Regions from separate parts of the Homo sapiens genome. Here region 2 is linked to region 1. Evidence: promoter capture Hi-C in human tissues and cell types (Jung and others, 2019). All regions are on one chromosome and are shown on one strand. The core of a region is centred on a gene start or on the middle of the fragment in contact, and the rest is flanking DNA. Distances in the headings are between cores, read along the strand shown. Region 1 holds the start of SHROOM1 (shroom family member 1). Region 2 overlaps SEPTIN8 (septin 8).

The links. Contacts are between HindIII fragments. The study calls those that stand out against the background at their distance.
Region 2: a contact is called between a fragment that was not itself captured here and the fragment with the promoter of SHROOM1 in region 1, in 2 of the 25 tissues and cell types used here (dorsolateral prefrontal cortex and hippocampus).

The regions. Positions count from the first base shown.
Region 1 is chr5:132,828,427-132,834,382 of GRCh38, forward strand. SHROOM1 (shroom family member 1) reads right to left here and starts at 2,221. Exons shown (of 10, transcript NM_001172700.2): 1 at 2,168-2,221. RefSeq lists silencers at 1,590-1,899, 2,110-2,529. The HindIII fragment of the contact is 17,651 bases long and covers 1-5,956 here.
Region 2 is chr5:132,767,332-132,773,287 of GRCh38, forward strand. The region is part of intron 1 of SEPTIN8 (septin 8); the gene reads right to left. Among named protein-coding and RNA genes, the nearest start is that of SEPTIN8, 6.9 kb to the right of the region's middle. The HindIII fragment of the contact is 3,532 bases long and covers 1,899-5,430 here.

The DNA of each region.
Region 1 (5,956 bases), core at 971-3,470:
CTTTAGGAGGACAAGAAACTACTCTGAGTAGCAGCTCCTGGGAGGACAGTCCCCTCATCTAGGAAGCCCACCCGACTGCTCAGACATTAGCCCTTTCTCTTCCTACTCTTTCTGAGTCCAGCTTGGGAGCACTAGCTCATGTCACCCATCCTGCCCATTTTGGCTTGCTGCAGCTACAGATGGGGATCACCAAACACAAGATGTTTCCTCAAAAGAGGTCTTGAAAATCTATGAAAATCTATCTTATTTGTGAGTTACTATGTTAAAGGATTCTGAATTCAGCAAATAAAAACAGCTTGAATGGGCAATAAAAATGTGTCTACACATGTGTTTCCTTATTGACTGTAACTTGTTGAAGATGCTTTTGCACTGGTGGCCCTATCAGGTTGATGTTCACGCAGGCTCCTCACAGTGGGTGCTTTGCAGAACCTACCATGCCAAGAGGGCCCAGCTGCTTTGGTGTGTTTTGGGGGGCCTCAGCACAAAACAACAAGGCATTTTCATACTTGTCTGGCTGCAGGGAGCCTCTTGCAGTCCAGCCAGCCCCTGTGGCTGGGGGTAGCCCTACCTTAGGGGTCCCTGCCTCAGTGGCAGTGGTACCTGTGGGCTGGGCTGTTATGCCTGTGCCGGCTGCTGAAAGGGAGTTCAGAGGTGGAGCTCAAGGAGCTCTGCAGGCATTTTGCCAAGCCTCTCCAGAGCAGAGGGAGCAACCTAGACTCCCCGCTAGAAAGACACCAGATTGGAGTCCTGGGAGGGGGAGTTGGGGTGGGCATTTGATGTATACTTGTCACCTGAATGAAGGAGCCAGAGAGGAAGGAGACGAAGATGAGATTGGCCTTCAAAGCTAGGGGTCTGGCAGGTGGAGGCACCAGTCTGAAAGGAGGAGCTGGGGCTGAGGAATTGTCAAGGGGGCCAGTGCTCCTTCAGTCTGGGCTTCATGGTGTCTGTGACAAGTCAGGCAGCAGTTGGGATGTGGCTCTGGAGTTCAGCAGGGGAGGGTAGACCAGGCAAGACCCAGGTTTTTAGTTAGAGGTTACTGGGGAAATAGCTGAAGACAGTTTCCGGTGGATAAAATCACACCAAGGCAATGGGAACAGATCCAAGTAAGGCGACCGAGGAGGCACAGGAGAACGGACAGCCTCAAATACAACGAATGATCAGGATTTACATCATACCTCCCTCAAGGCCACCTCACATCTGACCTCTCTGTGGAGGGGCTATCCAGGCCGCCCCTCCCAGCGGGTCTTCCCTCAGTACTGGGCTCACTGTGTAGGCGCTGTCTCCCTGTCAGACTGAGTTCCTGGGTACTGGACCACGTCTCAAAACCCAGTACCCGCAGCTGGGTCTGGCTAGGCGGACGTTCTGGGAAGTTCACCGGCTCTCCCTGTCCCCAGCGTCCCCCGTTCTCCCAGCCTGTCCGCGCTGACAGCGCACCCCACGCAGCATCCACGCTCCGAGTGTGCGACTGGTTTACGGGCTCATCGGTCGCTGCACCCCAGATGCAGAGTCTCTGGAGACCCGAGCTCCGTGCCATGCACAGGAAATGCAGGAAGCTGGCGACACCCGGGGAGAGGCGGCCGCGGGCGTGGACAGACCCGGTTACCTGGGGTTCAATCTCTGGGAGCCGAGGCACGGGAGGGAGAGAGGCGCAGGCCCCGGCGGCCGCAGGGGGCGGCAGAGACACGCGGAGCGGCTCGACAGCAGATGGCCGCAGCCCCGCGCAGTTCTGGGCCTTTCCCGTTGGGTTCACCGTCGGGGAAGGATCGCGCGCAGGGGACAGCGCGAGCCCGGGAGGGAAGGACCCGGCTTCTCCAGATGCTTGGCGACAAAGGGCAGGAGCGGAGGGTGGCGGAGTGAGACCGCGCTGCCCGCCGGCGCCACACGCGGCGCGCCCAGCCGCGCCCCTGAGCCGCGCCGCCAGCTTAGAGTGGGCCGCCTCTCCGCCCTGCAGCTCTGCAGCTGGGAGAGGCGCGCTGGGGTCCGACTCCACTGGCGCAACCTGACGCGGCGCCGAGCCAGACACGTCCCGGCCGAACGATGCCCGGGCTGCCCCGCGACCACCGCCTCGCCGCCCGCTCTTCACCCCCGTCCGCCCGCAGCCCCGCCGGCCTCCCGGGGGAAGCGGACCCAGCCGCCCGCTTCCCGCTCCCCCGCCCCCGCCGCGTACCTGAGGCTCCCGCCGAGACGCGCTCCTGGGCCGTCGCAGCCGCGCGGTGACATCAGAGCCCCGGGCTCTGACTCCGACCCCACCTCCAGGCTCCGGCCGCGGCCTCAGGGGAGGCGCCACGTCCGGCCGCGGGGGCGGGAGCCGCAGCCTCTTGGTAGCGTCCGCGCGCCGGCCCAGTCCCAGGTCTGAGGGTGGACAGTGCGTTCCCGCGCGGGCCACAGGCCTCTTGCCCCAGGCCGGAGAAACCTGAGCGAGGTGGTGGGAGGGCGACTACGGCGACCGCCCACCGGCCTCCAGCGCGTCCGTGATGCTCGGGGGCCGGGTCCCTCGGGGCCTGACACCTCCCTCGGTGGGGAGGTCCAGGGCGGGCCCTTAGGCGCCTGACGGCTACCCGCTTTCCCCCCCAAGCCCGGCCAAGAAAACAGAGCTGCCAGGGCCTCGTGCCTCCCACCTGTCCCGCTGAGTAACTCGGCCCTTGATCAACTCTACCCCCAGACCCCCATTTCCAAAACTCTTCCAGCTCTTTGACTCCCACCATGGGCTCTTGTCTCCTGTTCCCTGTCCCATTTCTTTCCATTTCTCCCACTACCCAGCATGGTCTGGGCCCTCCAGCCTGCTACCGGGGTGGGGGAGAGGGGGGCGGAGCACGGGGAAGCCCCTGGACTTGTGTGCACCTTAGCTGTCCTGAGTGTGTCCTTAGGGAGCTGGACATATGCATACCCACTAAGGCTGGACACTGGCGCTCGAGGCCCTCACCTTCCAGGATCTCCATTTTCCAAAGAACGCTCTGCCTGCACCTGCCACTGAGCTCTCCTTGCTGTGTCCTCAGGCTCCCCTGCCCCGACTTCCCAAACTCTGTCCTATGAATACCACTCTGCCAAGAAATGCTCCGTTCCTGAGAGGGGCTGGGGACCCTTTGATGAGCCTCTCCGGCTCTCAGGTCTCTGCCTTTGTCCTCCGCTGCCCTCCCGCTCCCACAGGATCAACAGGGCTGGGCTCAGGGGCTGTGTCCTCCCATGGTAGTATCCCTGGCAAATAAAGGTTTATTGGTGTTAATAACCAGGACTCTGAACTCTGGCCAAGAGTCAAGGTTGCCACTTCCTAGGGACACTGGGAGCCTGAGGAACTCTGTCTTCTTGGGTCTTCTTGGGTTCGGAGGCAGGAGACACCTGAGCCCGACTTCTGAGAGTGGTGCCCGCTGGGCCCTGCTCCTTCTTCAACACCATCTGGACTCAGGCACCAGCTTCAGCTGGAGCGCTAGGCTTTAAGACAGTGCCTAAGAACCTTTCGGCTTTGAAAGACTTTTGTTGTTTGTTTTGCTTTTTTGAGACAGAGTCTCCCTCTGTCGCCCAGGCTGGAGTGCAGTGGCCGGATCTCTGCTCACTGAAACCTGCGCCTCCCAGGTTCAAGCAATTTTCCCTGCCTCAGCCTCCCAAGTAGCTGGGATTACAGGCACCGGGCACCACGCCCAGCTAATTTTTGTATTTTTAGTAAAGACGGGGTTCGCCATGTTGGCCAGGCTGGTCTCAAACTCGTGACCTCAGGTGATCCACCCACCTTGGCCTCCCAAAGTGCTGGATTACAGGCATGAGCTACCGCACCCGGCCTGAAAGACTTTTAATATTTTTAAGACCCTGATCCACAGAGTCTCACAGCAGCATCAAAATAGAAGAAAGACAGCCCAGCAAACAACAACAAAAAATTTTTAATTGCTCATGTTGGCTGGGGCGGTGGCTCATGCCTGTAATCCCAGCACTTTGGGAGGCCAAGGTGGGCAGATTGCTTGAGCTCAGGAGTTCGAGACCAGCCTCGGCAACATGGCGAAGCCCTGTCTCTACAAAAATACAAAAAAAAATAGCTGGACGTGGTGGCACGCACCTGTAGTCCCAGCTACTTGGAAGGCCTAGGCACAAGAATCGCTTGAACCGAGGAGGCATAGGCTGCAGTCTGCCGAGATCACGCTACTTCATTCCAGCCTGGGCAACAGAGTGAGATTCTGTCTCAAAAAAAAAAAAAATGGTTATGTTTTTTACTTATATTTCTTGAAAACTATGGGGACACAGTGTCCAGAACAATTCTATTAACCCACTCCACCCACCTACCACTCACCTCTTGCACACACTACAGCACCTCTCTGCTAGGGACCATGAGGACGCAGTCCAGAGCGATTCTTATTAACCCACTCCACCCACCTACCACTCACCTCTTGCACACACTAAGCAACTCTCTGCTAGGGACCATGAGGATGCAGTCCAGAGCGATTCTTATTAACCCACTCCACCCACCTACCGCTCACCTCTTGCACACACTAAGCAACTCTCTGCCTAAGTCCCCAGAAAACTGAAATCCCACCTACCCACGTCTCTCTTAACCTCTTCTGTTCTGAGAAAGAGAAAAGTAACCCCTAACATCTGAAAGGCCCAGCTGGACCTTGGTGTTGCCAGAATTTGACCTGACATTCACAGCAAGGCCTTACTGTTGTCCCATTGGACATAAGCCATTTCACAGGGCATCAATGTGAGACAGGGCCGTTCTTTAACAATGATGGATCAAGACAAAAACAACAGCACTCTAATCATGTCTAACACATACAAAAGCATGAACATTGTCCAAGTCACAAAAATGACCTAGCTAATGAGTGCCTGCTGTCCTAGCTAATGTGAGTACCTGCTGCTTCTTTACCAATTGCAGCTTTAGCCTCACTCTAATCATTCCTCTTTCTAGATAAGATTTATTAATATACCCAATCATAGAATTACTCTTGCTTCTTGACAGCATCCAGCACAAAGGAAAGTTCTGCTTCTTTAACCCTCTTGAAAAGCACTAACCCAAACCCAGATCCTCTAAGTCCTTTCCAATGCTCTCTTCCTGAGATGCCACGTGGTTTCCCATGCTACGTGTCCTCTCTCACTTCAACAAGCAATGAACCCAACTTGTTCAACTACAGGTGTGCTCGTGGTGGTCTTTGGCTAGGGGGCACTGATACTTCCTATCTCATTATTACAAAAGCACAGAGAATCTTGGAGAAGAGAAGGGGGAAGAAACTGCCACAAAGCTGGAGTCTCCCTTAGTGATGGTGGTTGGGGGGTGAGTGTGCATGGAGAGGGTGGAAACATGCACATATGCTTCCAATACATAAAGAGAGGTGTCTGCACCCTTCAGTATCTCAATACTTTCTCAGGCCTGGGGGAGTTCTTTTGAAGAGACCCTTAGATGGCTGTGTTTAGCTGGGATTAGAGCCACAGACCTTGCTGTTCCTGGCCAGGCCCTATATCAAGGAGCTGATAGGTGGGGAGGTGGTGGGCCTCCACTCCACATAGTTTGGCACTTGTAATCTGAACTGATGACACCAAAGCAAAGCAACTGCCCACCTCACAAGTCCCTGTGGTTTCTTGCTTTGATGCCCACTCTCTTTGTTGGATATGGTTAATGTGATGTGACTATGAGTGGAATACTAAAGACCACTTCTTTAGTGCCAAGCACTGTGCTAAGTGCTCTATGTATCTTTTTAGCCCTCTTACTCCTCAGAAGTAGGTATCAGTATAACCCCATTTTACAAGTGAGAAAGCTGGGACTTAGAGACATTATTTTGTCAAGGTCAGGTAGCTAATAAGCAGTAGAGGCAATACTTAACCCCCTAATGTCTGGTTCCAAAGGCCATGCTGTCATGTAAACATGAGCAGTGTAAAGAACTGTATGTTGTGGATATCAATGCAGCCTTCCTAGGAGAGCAGGATTTGGACTTCAGATTGAGCAGAACTCGCAAGCGAGCGGGAAAGATGAGACAGT
Region 2 (5,956 bases), core at 2,415-4,914, 60 kb before region 1:
CCAGCCCAGCTGGTAACTCTGAGCTCTCTTTTCAAACTCTGCCCCTCCCCTCGGCTCTACAGCTACTCTACTTTTCCCTTGGCACCCACTCTCACCTGGCCCCCAAGCACTTACGTTCCAGACCCCTCACTTGGCAGTTATCCTGTTTCCTAGTACTACTGGTTATCCTTTTTTAATGCATCTTGATTCTCCACCTATTCTATAAGCTTCTAGATGTCGGCTGCAGGTTGGGGAGGTCAGGTTTTCTGTTCTTCCTTCCCTCCCATTACTATGCCCAACATGCTGGACAATGCTACCATTTATAAGTTACTGAACACAGCCTCCAACTGCTACGGCATCAGAGCACCTGCCCACCTTACACAGGGCTTCATTATTTAGTCTCTGTTCCACCTCCTTGTGTCGGCTTGAGGATCAAATGGAGGACACAGTCGGTCTAGAGCTTTTTTCTTTTCAGGCAAGACTGAAAATCTCCAAAATTTAAGGCGTGCTGTGCTTGCAGAGAAGGCTATGTGTTTATTCATCCTCTTCTTCCAAGGGGTGACACAATCAGGATGCAATCCAACATCCTGTAGTCTGCCGCCAAACCCCACCAAGTCAGCTGTGTCTGGAAACCACACACACACACACACACACACACACACACACACACACACACGCAGCCGCAGAGCACTTACTGAGAAGCAGAGGCCATTCCATTCCTGTTTTCCCCCACTTTCTTACAGTTCTAGGCCCCAGAGGCTAAGTGTAGCACTGGGGGTTCTTGGGGTGGGTCTCACATAAACCACCTATCCACACACAGCAACTGCAGAGTGGCCTCCTCTCACACAGCTTGGCTCTCTCTGTGGAAGTGTGGGGTACAGGGAGGTCATCATCCCTAAGTTGTTACCCAGGCTACACTCTGTTATCGCAGGGGCCACACATCTGGGGCAATACCTGTTTAGGAGCCCCGGGGACCAGTCAGGGGTATGAGTCTATGGAGCATGCATGCACACACACACGTACACACACAGAATGGCCACTGGCCCTGATGGAGGCAGTGTTGTTACCTGGTCCCAGGAGACTGATCTGACCTCCAGGCTTTACCGAGGGGTAACTCTCACTAATGCCAACTCCCTGATCATAGATTTGGCATCGACATGTGATCTAAGTTGCATTGCTCACTCCAGGGTGCCTGCTCCAGGCATCTCTACCAACCTGAGTGGGGTTACAACCTAGGAGGAACCAGCAGCCCCTGAAGGACCTCCTGCACATCTCAGCTACCATGACTCAGAAATAAAGTCAGGTGACCCAGTGGCTACCAGCCCTGCAATTTGGTGGGTGAGACCACAGCTCCAACTCCCAGGGTGGGAGCCCATCAGCGTGATGCCATGATCGGTGCAAGTACAGGCAAGTGACGCAGGTTGAGCCTTTATGACCATCTTGAGACCATTAGGGGAGCTAGCCTAAGGCTGCAGTCTACTCACAGGATGGCAGAGCCAAGAAAATCACAGAGAAAAGAGGGAGCCAGAGTCTGCCCTATCTCTGGGCTTTTCCCCTTCCCCCTGGCCATATCCTCTTTATTGCTGAGGCTAGTTGAGTGGTATTATCTATTACTTGCAACTGAAACATCTTCGGTGCCATAGGATCCAAAGTAAAACTCTTTGGATGCAGAGGAACAGGGAGAAAGCGAGGAGAGCCAGGAAAGGAGGGACAGTGTGGAAGGTAAAACATCTCAGTATTCACAACCAAAGGAAGGAAGGGACGTCTGGGATGATACCAACACCTCACTGAGGACCACCATGTGTGAACTAAGCCAAGTGATTTACACCCAGGCTCTCACTTGGTCCTTCCTCACTGTGGATGACAGACTCCATGATTATCCCCATTTTACAGGGGAGGAAACTGAAGCACACAGAAGCTAGGGAACTAACCAGGGCAGAGCAGGGACCTGAGAACAGACCAAGCTCTTGTCCCAAACCACTCTGCTACATTGCCTCCCCTGTTCTTAGCAGGCTTCCAACTCATTCATTCAGTCACTCAACACACACGCACTGGACATGTCTGCTGTGTGCCAGGAACTGAGATGGCTGCCAGTGAAAAGATGAGGACATCAGATCCTTGACCTCAGAGGGCTAAGCCTAAACTCAAATGCCTTTAGAAGCCAGGCAGGTAACATATATAGGTGAAGGGGAGCAGCACCTTAATAACAATGGCAACAACAACAGACATAACTAACATGTATTGCATGCTTGCTTTGCGCAACCCTAATTTAATCTAATTTAGTCCACACATCAGCCCTATGACATAGGCCGTAGCAGCCTCCCCATTGTCTAGATGAGACAATAGAGGCATCAAGAGAGTGTGTAATTTGCCCAAGACCACACTGCTCAGGAGAGCAAAGCCAGGATCTGAATGGAGACAACATGACTGTGAAACCCACACTTCTAGTCACATCACTCCCCGCCTGCTGGATGAAAGACAGCCACTAACTTGGCCAAGCGTGGGGGTTCCCGGGGAGAGGTGGGAATGGCAGAGAACTGGAGAGCCTGTGCTTATGCTCAATCCATGGTGGCCACAGTTCCACAACGCCAGCCAACTGTGGGAACACAGATCTAGTGTTGCCAAATCTTCCCGTTTTTAAAGAGAACCCAAAAATCTCTCTCTATATATACATATATATATATATATATATATATATATATATATATATATACACACACATATATATATATGTGTGTGTGTGTGTGTGTGTGTATATATATATATATATGTATATATGTATATATATATGTATATATGTATATATATATATATGTATATATGTGTATGTGTGTGTATATATATATATATATATATGTATATATGTATATATATGTATGTATGTATTTTTTGAGACACAGTCTGGCTCTGTCACCCAGGCTGGAGTGGTGTGATCTCAGCTCACTGTAACCTCCGCCTCCTAGGTACAAGCAATTCTCATGCCTCAGACTCCCCAGTAGCTGGGATTACAGGCACGCAACCACCACGCCTGGCTGATTTTTGTATTTTTAGTAGAGACGGGGTTTCACTATGTTGGCCAGGTCGGTCTTGAACTCCTGACCTCAGGTGATCCACCTGCGTTGGCCTCCCAAAGTGCTGGGATTACAGGTGTGAGCCACCATGCCTGGCCCAGAAATCTATATTTTTATGTGAAATTCTGTAATTTTTAAAGATTGACAACCAATACAAACTGAGAATACCATGAGGGCCCAATACAACATGTCAGGGGGCTGGTGTGGGCCAAAGGCCTGCTGGTCTGTAAGCTGGCTCTGGTGGGAGGGTGAGCTGGACGGACCCTGCAGCCAGGCTCCATTCTCAAGTCAGGAAGCCCCATGGCAGACTGCTCTGTGGGGAGGAGCCTTCAGGCAGGACAACTTAACTTGGACCCCAGAGAGAGGTGGACCCAAAGCCTCTGGCTCATTCCACACACCCAGCTCCCTGAGGTGCTCACACAGGGGTGAGCGTTGTATATGTCTTCAAAGTCCCAGGATAGAGGGAGTTGGCAGCTCTGAGCTCTACATATGCAATGAGAAACTCCATGGGGCCATTATCCCCTCTCTAATCACTAACAAGCTTTTGGCTCCTGAGCCAGGCCCCAGGCTTCTGTGTCATCATTTCTTTGGCACATCAAAGACAACAACCAAAACAATAACTTCTCAGGCCGGCTGCGTGCCTCCATGCCCGGCCGTCCAAGACAAAGTAGAGAACAGCATTTTGTTACGCAGCCCAGTGGATAACTAGGACGCCCTTTTCCTGATAGGAAATGCTCTGTCTGAGCCTCCTAGAGCAGCCCTCATCACCAGCCAAGAGGAGCTGTCCCTTTTACCATGAAACAAGGTGGGATCTGGGAAGAAACTGCATCTCATGGTTGCCAACACACAAAAACAGGTTTTTATCCAGAAGGAACTGGAAATCTACTGAATCTCTAAACCAACAGAGCCGGGGAAGCTGTGGGTAAATAAAGACCCCTGTGATCCAAACCCCCAAACTAGGCTGGTTGTTGCAGTGGGAGTAGAAAGGATACCCCACCATAGGTGGATTGGCTACCGAGTAATGGACAAAGAGCAGCCCCCAGACCTCAGGCCTTCCAGAGTTCTCCAGTGCCTTGGACTTTGGATGCTTTTCTTCCTCTGGGCTCCCATGCCTAGCACCCACTCACCTGTACACCCAGTCAGGCAGACAGGAAGCCCACTCCCCAGGGGAGCTCCAGCCCTGGGGGTGGCCCTATTAAGTAACTGAGCAATGGACTCAGGAGTCAATGGACCACTGGAAGCTTTCTCCACCCATGTTCCTGGCACAAACTATGCTAGCCCCGGCTCCAGCTCCTCCCAGGAGCCTGGGCCTTAAATAGCCAGAGCAGAGGCCTCTAGCCAGAACCCGTGGTCGCGGTCATAAGCACAACTGTCCTTGAGCCTGAGAGGAATCCTAGGAATTTTCCCAGGAAAGGCTTCGGCTCTGGTCCCAGGATTCCACAGCAAGCCTCTAAGCCCAGGTCAGAGGTTACGGGAAATAACCAAGGAGACATACGTGGGAGGGTGGGGGTGGGATGCTGCTACCCGGGGCCAGGAAGGAAGAATAGAGGCAGGATATACCTGTCCCAAATCAAGAGGACACCTGGGAGCCAAAGCATCTTTCTCCTACAGTGGCAACAGAAAACTTGAGAGAAGATTCAAGCAAGGATCACCCGCCATGGTCCCAACATGACGGCAGTCAAGGTAACAGGAAGCCAATCATCCTCACAAGGCCAGTCCTACTCCACCCATCCTGGGAAGAGAAGGAATTTTGGGAGCAAAACCATCCCCTGACCCCAATACTCCATTCTCTCTGTTTCTCTGTCTCACTAAGAGGCACTGTCTTTCCTTTCTGCACACAGCCAGCCAGGCTGGAGCTTATTAATTTGGGATAGTGTGTTTCAAGCTTTTCCCATCAAAATCAGATTTCCAGGAAGCTAAGAGCACAGTTACTGGTAGCTGGGCCAGTACTCGCCACCCCAACCCCCAGGCCTAGGACAGACACATTCTTGGCCTTTATTGTGCTGCCTGAGAGGGAGTGGTCTATCCCACCACAGAGGAGATGGGGAAGGTGCTCTGGGCTGCAGAATGTACTAGAACTCCAGGCATTCATATTTTCTTACTTAGCTCAGGGACTCCAGTGGCAGCCACCACTGCCTTGTAACAGGGAAAGCCACGAGTGGTCTGGGTATCACTGGCAGGAGAAGGCAGCCTCTGTTTCACAGCAAATGAAACCCTTGGAGGGAGAATGTGGGCAGCAAAGGTGCCCCGCCTTCTGTCCAACCCCACGATGGATGCCAGTGCTGGAAAGGGACGGAGGAATGCATGGGCACCAATACGGGTTGGCAGAGGTATGGGGGTGGCACTGCTATACTTCTCTGCTGCTTGTCCATTCACTCCAACACCAGGCAGAATGTCAGGTTTGTACCCAGGCCCAAGAGCCATGTCTGGCAAGTGGGCTTGGGTCCATACCCACAGCCCCTCCTGAACCCCAAGCATCAGGCAGCCCAAGCCCTGGAGCCCCCTCAGAAAACAGCCAGCCACCTGCCAGCAGACATGGGCCCCTGTACCTTCCTCTGCTGGTTCTGTCCCTCTAATCTGACCTCTAGGATAGGGAACACCTGAAAGCCGTGTATCCTGAGGAGAATATCTAATTTGCCCCAAGAACATGTAGGGCAACTGCACGCAGAGCCAAGATGCCCCCTGCCCCGTCCTCCGCTGCCTCTTCCCAGCCAGTTCTTTCAGGAGCTCTGAAGGTTCAGATGGCTCCAAAAGAAGCCAACAGAGTGCCCCAGCTCTACCACAAGGGCATGGAGACCTTGGGAGGGCGTCTCCTCCCCAGGCAGATGTGTCTCCCTCCTGCATGCATAGCTCTGCATCTGGTTATCTGGCAAAGCTTTTGCCTTGGGGGCCATGCCTGGGGATCC